2 separate regions of the Homo sapiens genome follow, and region 1 is linked to region 2. The links are contacts of gene promoters, found by promoter capture Hi-C in blood cells and fetal thymus (Javierre and others, 2016). All regions are on one chromosome and are shown on one strand. The core of a region is centred on a gene start or on the middle of the fragment in contact, and the rest is flanking DNA. Distances in the headings are between cores, read along the strand shown. Region 1 has its middle 35 kb from the start of MAP9-AS1. Region 2 holds the start of FGA (fibrinogen alpha chain).

Evidence for each region. The method cuts DNA at HindIII sites, captures the fragments that hold promoters and counts their contacts. A CHiCAGO score of 5 or more calls a contact.
Region 1: a contact is called between a fragment that was not itself captured here and the fragment with the promoter of FGA in region 2, in 3 of 17 cell types (total CD8 T cells, naive CD8 T cells and activated CD4 T cells). The highest score is 6.9, in total CD8 T cells.

What each region holds. Positions count from the first base shown.
Region 1 is chr4:155,315,321-155,322,235 of GRCh38, forward strand. No RefSeq gene overlaps it. Among named protein-coding and RNA genes, the nearest start is that of MAP9-AS1, 35 kb to the right of the region's middle. The HindIII fragment of the contact is 1,910 bases long and covers 2,088-3,997 here.
Region 2 is chr4:154,589,492-154,591,991 of GRCh38, forward strand. It overlaps FGA (fibrinogen alpha chain), which reads right to left and starts at 1,251. Exons shown (of 5, transcript NM_021871.4): 1 at 1,143-1,251; 2 at 1-71. The coding sequence starts at 1,196. The HindIII fragment of the contact is 3,315 bases long and covers 211-2,500 here.

The sequences.
Region 1 (6,915 bases), core at 1,793-4,292, 730 kb after region 2:
AGGGCAGGGCCCTCATGGAGAACCTCTGCTAGGGCAGTGCAGAGGGAAATGTGGAGTTGGAGGACCCACAGAATCCCTACAGGGGCACTGCCTAGTGGAGCTGTGAGAAGAGGACCACCATTTTCCAGACCCTAGAATGGTAGATCCACCAATATCTTGCACTGTGCACCTGGAAAATTTGCAGACACTCAATGCCAGTCCATGAAAGCAGCCAGGAGCGGGACAGTACCCTGCAAAGCCACAGGAGTGGAGCTGCCCAAGGACATGGGAGCCCACCTCTTGCATCAGTGTGACCTAGATATGAGACATGGAGTCAACTGAGATCATTTTGGAGCTTTAAGATTTGACTGCCTTGTTGGATCTTAGACTTGCATAGGACCTGTTGGCCCCTTTGTTTTGGCCAATTTCTCCCATTTTGAATGGCTGTATCTACCCAGTGCTTGTACTCCCATGGTATCTAGGAAGTAACTAACTTGCATTTGATTTTACAGGCTCATAGGCAGAAGGGACTTGCCTTGTCTCAGATGAGACTTTGGACTGTGGACTTTTGGGTTGATGCTGAATGAGTTAAAACTTTGGGGGACTGTTGGAAGGCATGATTGGTTTTTAAAAGGATGTGAGATTTGGGAGGGGCCGGGGCAGAATTATATGGTTTGGTTCTGTGTTCCCACCCAAATCTTACCTTGAATTGTAATAATCCCCACATGTCATGGGAGGGACCTGGTGGGAGATAATTGAATCCCATGCCATTTTTGTGATAGTGAATAAGTCTCACAGATCTGATGGTTTTATAAAGGGCAGTTCCCCTGCACATGCTCTCTTTACTGCTACCATGAAATACATCCCTTTTCTCTTTCTTAATCTTCCACCATGATTATGAGGCTTCCCCAGCCATGTGGAACTGTGAGTCCATTAAACCTCTTTCCTTTATAAATTACCTAGTCTTGGGTATGTCTTTATTAGCAGTGTGAGAACAAACTAATACACAGGCTAATCCTGTAAAGGAGAAGGTTGTCTTTCTCCACACATTTTTTCCATCTACTGAATGGAGAAGACTCTGAGATGCTAAGAAACAGTGGAAAGACAGGGTGGAAGGACCTAGGTTGCTGAAGCACCTCGTGGAATAAAGTCACTGCCAACAGAGCTGCCTCCATTGAGCACCTGCATGAATAAGATGTGCTGTTGTATTATGTTAGCAGCTCTGTGTCATTAGACACTTGCATGAACAAGGACAATTATTTCATCATGTTAATCTATTAAACTCTTGGAGTAAGATTATATTAACCTGAACCAAGACAAAACTGGGAGTACACATTTGGACCTTCACATCAGTAAACTGGTTCTTTAGGAAGGGGTCTTTCCTAGTGACTAACCTCATAGCTGCTTTCTGGTTTTTGTTTTGTTTTGTTTTTCAGTGATGCTAGAATGTAAGCTGCATGTGAGCAGGAATTTTTGTCTGTTTTGCCATTGATGTATCTGAAGCAACTAGAAGAAATACCTGGCATAAGGTAGCATTCAGCAATTAGTTGCTGAATAAGCAAATGAGCAAAAAGAAAATATTATCTTCTAACTAGTGATTGGACTGTCATCATGCATAAATTGAAAAAATGCAATGTAAAACTATGAAATAGATTTTTATATAACTGTGTTTCTCTATCTCCATAAATAGAATGTTACAAAGTTTTATGTTATTAATGGTAACAAAATAATTTCTGAAATTTTATGGCATAGTTTTCAGAGTTTTTTGAAAACTACTTGGCAGCTCTAAAAACTGCAAGAGTGTCACATAAATGATAATGCAAAGGGTTAATAAGGAAGAGGTAGCGTTGATCCCATAAGGCATGGAAGATTGTGTGGGCCTTCAGATCAAAAGGGAGATGTGTATATATGTGTAAGAATATCACTGTGTCATAAGAGATTAATTGTTTGGTTTAAGTTACATCTCAAAAAGTAATACACTGCATGAAGTGGATAAAGAACTGAAGATTTAACCCTGGGGAACAGTTGTGGCTGTAATTCCATGACTTTTACTTTCTTCTATAATAAAGTTTAAGGAGAGTCTGAAAATTTAGGATAAATGAGAAATAAGCTTAGTACAAGCAGTGGGTGGGGGGCTCTAAAAGGTAATTCTCTGGGCATCATCATCTTGGCTGAAATGGGCATCTGGCATCTACTTGGTCTGGATATTAACTTATGTAAATCTCTGGGAGCTTCATTTCCTTGGGTAAAGGAAATGAAATAAAAAACTAAAAATGAGTGAAACTACACAAATGAATGAAACCACGTGTAATTTACTATACTATAGGTTGAAGAGGAAAATATATACAAAATTCATGACTACCATACAGTATCTTTTTGGTATTAATGTCCGACTTTCCCTCTTCACTCCTTGCCCCTCTCTCCCCAAACACACATGTATAGAGAATCACTAGAAATGAGTGATAGATCCTGAGCTAAATTTGTCTACAGGACATTTCTGCCATGGTCAAGTTTGTATCTTATTAGGCTTTCACCATTTTGTTCACAAATTCCATTTTATGGAGTCTCAAAATATAACATTTCATATCCCTAGCACAGAATCAGTGGCAGAAATTTTCCATATTTCCATTCACAGCTCGTATGTTATATCTTCATACCTTTCTAGAACCCTTTTCACTGCTTGTCCTGCCTACATAGATTTATATAATTTGGTTCTTTAGGGGTTTCCCTCTTTTTCAATAGCCCTCTGCTATTATGGCCTCAGGGATAATTTACTTCTGTGTAAAGTCACCCATGTGCTCCTTTCTTTTTAAATGCCTAAATCTCTCTGGTCATAACTTGTATGTCTCTCTGCCACGCTTCCACAGTGGGAAGGACAGATTTCCATAATAAGGCTGAACTAAAACTGGCCTCCTAGTTGCATTCTTTCCTGATAAAAGTGTTCTTCTTTCTAATGCCATTAAATATTTCCCTTGGCTGCAACACTGTATTTTACTGTTTGAACATGCATTAAATATGCCTTCTTTCTTTCTTTCTTTTTTTTTTTGAGACGGAGTCTTGCTCTGTTGCCCAGGCTGGAGTGCAGTGACACAGTCTTGGCTCACTGCAAGCTCTGCCTCCTGGGTTCACGCCATTCTCCTGTCTCAGCCTCCCGAGTAGCTGGGACTACAGGTGCCCACCACCACGCCTGGCTAATTTTTGTATTTTTTAGTACAGACGAGGCTTCACCTTGTTAGCCAGGGTGGTCTCGATCTCCTGACCTCCTGATCCACCTGCCTTGTCCTCCCAAAGTGCTGGGATTACAGGCGTGAGCCACCGTGCCTGGCCCCTTCTGTCTTTATTATAGGAGATATTATTATTTCCGTGATAGTTCAGGAACCAAGTCTCAGAGGAATATAGGGGTGGGTTAGACTGGGTGTTGCTCACTCTTGTGATGAGTTCCAGACAGATGACCCTGTAAAAAGCATTACTGGACCACCCAGAAGGCACAGCCTAAGAAGGCCATCCTTCTGGGAATGTTGCCACACCTTTCAATGAGCTACAGAGCTAACCCATGGTAACAATTGGTATGGAGGCACACTGTCTTATTCTACCTGAGAAACAGGCATAATAAAACTGTAGAATTCCACTTAGCCTGTTGTATCACATACTATTTAGTTTTTTTCCTGAAGCCTACCTACCTTCTCCCTCTCAATTTTTGGATTTTTTTATCAGCTACTCTGTCCTTTTCATTTTTCCTGGACTTTCTCTATTCCTCATTTTTGTTTTTATGAAAGCATGGCCTTTTAAAATGCCCACATATAACACTCTTAAGTTCACCAGATAAAACAATAACAATAATTACAAAAGGTTTCACTTATTGCGAATGCTTTATGTATATTAATACACTGTATAATCTTTGTAGCAAATTCATGATATTAGATTGCTTTTCTTTTTCCCCATTTTACTGAGCTAAACTGAAAATTAGAGAATTAGCAAGTTGTTCAAAGCCACATAGCTAATAAAAGGCAGGATTCAAAGCTTGGTCCAATTGACTCGAGAAGACATGATTTATGGATCCAATAAATAACGAGTGAGTGCATTGGTGATAGAGACACAACAATGACAAAACAGGCTGATCACTCACCTCACAGAGCTTACATTCCTCTGGAGTGTCAAAGAAACATTACACCAGACATATTAAGCAGGGAAGGAAGACTTTATTCAAGACTATTGCAATAGAAGAGAGAGAGAGAGAAAGAGAGAGAGAAAATGAACTCAACTCCCGTAACACAGAACCCTGGAGTGTTTTTCTTATGGGGATGAACAAGTAGAAAAGTATTGGAGGAACTTAAGGTGTCTATGTGGTCAGATCATTTGTGTTGCTAATTTGGCACTTATGGAAGTTAAGCTTCTACCTTACCCCAGAGACTGGAAGATAGGGATGCAATTTTTCTTGATGATTGCACTGCAAAGGAATGAATCCCAGGTACTTAAGAAAGACATTCCTGGATTGTCAAACTGATAAAAGGCTGGGAGAAGATTTACATTTCAAAAGGGCAGAGAAAGAATTTACAACAGCAAATTTTCTACTGTAAATGCTTGAAGAAAAGGAAGATGGGACATCAACAGTCAAGAAGAAATCTGTCTAAAGTTTAGTCAAGCTAAAGAAATCATTAAGATCATCTTGGTCAGGAGAGAGACAAAAATATGTAGTGAATGTCCTATCAAGCAGGATACAGATGTTGCGGTGGGGGAGTTTCTATTTTATGTGGTTATGTGACTTTGTCCTAGTTTCTATCTAGAATAGAGGTTTTAAGCTCCCAGTTCCTGATTTATGGAGAAGCTAGTTGATATTAAGGGGAAATATTTCCTGAAGACAAAAACATTACTACTGACTTGGTCTTTACTAGAATACACACTGCCAGATTGGTTCTCCTGATTTATCCCCTGATCCCAGGGCTTTTCAGCCATTATATTCAATGCACATTATTTTCGGACCATTAGCATAAGCAAATAGGCTACTATTGACCACCCTGACCGTCTTCTCCCACCCCAAGTTTCTATACCATCTAACCCAAGACCTTGTTATAACCGTCTCTTAGATAACATGGCTATCTTCTCGTTCTCCTTAAAGAAAACATCCCAAGGCACTTCAGCTCCCTCCTACCCCTTCCAAATCTGGCATATTTGCCTAATAAGCCTAAATATACAGTGTTCATGTATTCCATTTTCTGGATAATAGCATTATTTATGCAATCTCTAAAAGACAGAAAAGACACTTCAGCACTTTAAAAAGTAATGTCCCCACTTGGGTAATCAAGCAGACTTTTTAGGAGCCCTCTCACTGGCTAAATCCGGAAGAGCAACTGCCTAATAGCAAATGTAATCTCCAGCAGGGCACCTCTATGCCATTATACTATTCTTATTATCCTTTTTTTGTCAAAAAAATTTTACAAAGCTACATTTCAAACATAAGAAGACTGAGGCTTAAAGATTTTTATTCAAGCCACGTAGCTATTAAGCAGGAGAACTGAGATGTAAACCCAGGTTATTTTAATTCCAAAGATGTGTTCTTTGAAATTTTTGTTTCCATTATTACATGCTACTACCAATCAAGTTTTATTTTTGGGGATAGGGGAATAAAACCTAAATATTATGACTTTTATTTGTTCATGGAAAACATAGGCATTTTTAATGATATCGCAATGAAACATAAGAAATATTATTCTGGTCTAATGTAGGGTTTCTCATGGGGTTCAATAATTATTACTGAGTTCTCTATTCAAATGTTCTTTTCATAATAGATCACTTGGGAAAAGGCTAAATGATATCAATTAGTCATTTTTATTTCAACATTAGGAGGAACTATTTTACCAGCTTATTCTTTTCCTTTGTGGCTTTATAGGCTCCATCCATCTTGTTCTCTTTAGAGATAAGAATATTGCAGAAAATGGAGAGTACCACAGGGCAAATTTCAATTACTCTGTGGAATATTAGCTATTTTACCTTGTTTGCTTAAGAGGTTTTTTTTCTGATTAAAGAATTATAATTTAAAAGGCAGAAGTAACTGTTCCTTTCATATTACTTCACAGTTCATCTCTCTTCTCTCTGGGGCTGACTTATGCCCACAAGGCTGATTCTAATTCCTTTTTTTTTTTTTTTTTTTAAGACAGAGTTTCTCTCTTGACACCTAGGCTGGAATGCAATGGCGCAATCTCAGCTGACTGCAACCTCCACCTCCGAGGTTCAAGCAATTCTCCTGCCTCAGCCTCCTGAGTAACTGGGATTACAGGCGCCCGCCACCACACCTGGCTAATTTTTGTATTTTTAGTGGAGATGGGGTTTCACCAAGTTGGCCAGGCTGGTCTCAAACTCCTGAGCTCAAGTGATCCACCCGCCTAGGCTTCCCAAAGTGCTGGAACTATAAGCGTGAGCCACCTTGCCCAGCTGGCAGTTTCTAATTCTTTTCTTGGGGAATAATAGTTGGTGTATCCCTTTGAAAAACTGGTCATGCATCATTGTACTTCTGTCTCCCACCTTTTTACCCTAGAATTTATTCTGAATATTTCAGAAAATTCAGACTACATCTTCTATAGAGGAATGGGGTTTGAAAAATGAAAACCCAGGCACTTGTATAGACATAGGAACATCCAAGATGTACTCATGGAGATAGTGCTGTGGCTGCTATATTTCGGATGCTCTGTTCTGCTGCAGCTATGAGCCTACTGAGGCTTTGAGCCTTACTTGTCATTGGCTTATCCCTGCTCGAATGGGAGTAGAAAGATGTGAGATCCTTAGGGCACCTCAGTGTAGCCCTGCTACACAAGATTCTCCATTATGGCACCAGTTAGAGGGAAAGTGTGAAACTCTCTAACTCAGGAGATATTTAACGATCAGTATCAGTGCTGTGTATTTGAGAGGGTGGCCTCTGGGTTCTTTCAGGAATGGTTGGTT
Region 2 (2,500 bases), core at 1-2,500:
CTTTCCACAACCCTTGGGCCACGCACGCCTCCTCCTTCAGCTAGAAAGTCACCTTCACCACTATCTGCAGTCTTTAAAGATTCATTCACATACACAAAAGAGAGCAACAGCAATGTTAGCCAGAAGAGGAGACAGTGGCATGCCTACAAGTCCCCAGGAAGAGATGGCACTCTCACAGAGATTAAGGAGAGCAGACACAGGGCTTCGGCAAGCTTCAGGTTTCTTATCTTCAAATGGAAATCCTAGGACCCATTTTATGGAGTTGTTATGAGAATTAAAGGAGACAAGGTGTACAAATTTCTTAACTGTGTGTGACACTTAAATAAGCATTTGATAAATATTAGGAGTTTTAAAGAATCCATCCTAAAAGGAAAATTATTTGAATCTATAAAATCAGTTAAATTTTACCTTTTCATTTTTACTAATGACTGCAGACAGAAAGTTGAAAACTACTGTAGAGCTCTTTCTCCTGTAATTGCTGCTTCAGTAGAAAAACCTAGACTATCTTAACTGAATGTTCCTCTCTCCTTCAAGTTTCTATGTAACCTTTAGAGATGGATTCATAATTTAAAAGAATACCATTACTGCGGAAAAGCGTATTGCCTTACTAACTAATCTCTTCTGATACTGCAAAGATATTTCCAAAGATAATTCGTTTGCTTTTTCTTCTGTCTTGACAAACACAACAATAACCTTTCAGCAAAACTGTACTAACACTAAAAGTTCTGCTTATTATGGACAAGTAGCAAGAAATTAATAACTAAAGAAAACAAATCTTACCATAAAATGTTTTATTCCATTAACTAGCATTATAATGCACCAAGGCTTTATAGGTACAAGGATGGCAAATAATTCTTGCCCTTTTTAAAACAAAACAAAACAAAATGTGGTAAGACTGAATGACAGATGCTAAAGTTTCCCTTGTGAGTTTGTACACTCTCATCCATCTAAGATCTTCCTCTTGGTGTCATATTACCCTGTATTCTTGAGGTGTCAAGCCCACCCAGGAAATTTCCTCCCAGGCCTGGGGTCATAAAGCTAAGAGTGTGTCAGGACATAGAGCAGGTAGACTCTGACCTCCAGGCTCTTTGTGGAATAAACACCAGAGAGAAAGCAAGAAGAAAAAATGAAAAGGGCCATACCCATGCTGTGCCCACCACACTTAGGACCAGGCAGACGATCCTCATGGAAAACATCTTTTCTAAGGGTGGGGCTGGCTCCTGAGGAGCACTCCAGCTGAAAGAAAGGATTGCTGCCACTCCTAGTTCCCATCCTATTTAAATCTGCAAGAGGTTTGGTTAATCATTGGCTTTGTCCTGTGTAGACAGTCAACCCTCCCTCTACGTCCTTTGTTCCTCCTATGCTGTTGGTATCCCAGAAATTCTTGCTCAATTCCCCTCAGCTTGTTTGCTTCCGATAAGCTGTTGCAAAGGTAGCATTTGATTCTCCAGTCAACAATTAGGAGATCTCACATTCCAGGAACAGGGTGGCTTTGAGAATGAAAAGAGGAGCATAGGAGGGTATATCCATATTTCTAAACGTGAAAGAATATAGAAGGTGCTTAGGTAAGCTAGCTGTAGCCCCCAGTAGTAGTGATTTAGCAAACAATATTTCACTTTATGCAGAAATTAGGGTTGGGTGATCTGGCTTATAAAAAAAATAACTTTGGGGATAAGCTGGCCCTGAAGGCTTTCTATAAGTTTATTTAGAACATATTACTTTTCTCTATTTAAAATATTAAGATGACAGCAGCCCCAGGAACAAAACATCTTGGGTTCATAATCCAAGCTGCACCACTTCCCTGCTCTATGTTCTTGGACAAGTTACTTTACCTCTTTATACTTCAGTTTCCTCATTTATAAAATAAGGATGCTGATAAGCTACCCCATGCTTTTATGAAGAATAAATGAGTTAATTCTTGTAAATCTCTCAGAACAGTGACTGTCACATAGGAAATACTCAGTGAATTATGGGAGATCATAAAGTGCCATGAAAAATACCATTTATTTCCTGTTTCTGTGCTAGCAATCTCATTTCTGAGTGTATTTCCAAAGGAAATGAAATCAGGATCTTGAAGAGACACCTGCATTCCCATGTTCATTGTAGCTATATTGACAATAGCCGAGATATGAAAACAACCTGTTTCCACTGATGGATGAGTAGATAAAGAAAATGTGTATATATATATATACACAATGGAGTATTACTCAGCCTTGAAAAAGAAGGAAATTCTGTCATTTGCAGTAACATTGATGAACCTAGAGGGCATTATCCTAAGTGAAATGAGCAGATATAGACAGACAAATACTGCTTAGCTGGTCGTGGTGACAGGCACCTGTAATCCCAGCTACTCAGGAGGCTGAGGCAGGGAGAATCACTTGAACGCGGGAGGTGGAGGAGGTTGCAGTGAGCCGAGATTGCATCATTGCACTCCAGCCTGGGCCACAGAGTGAGACTCCTTCTCAAAAAAAAAAAAAAAAACGGAAAAGAAAGACAAATA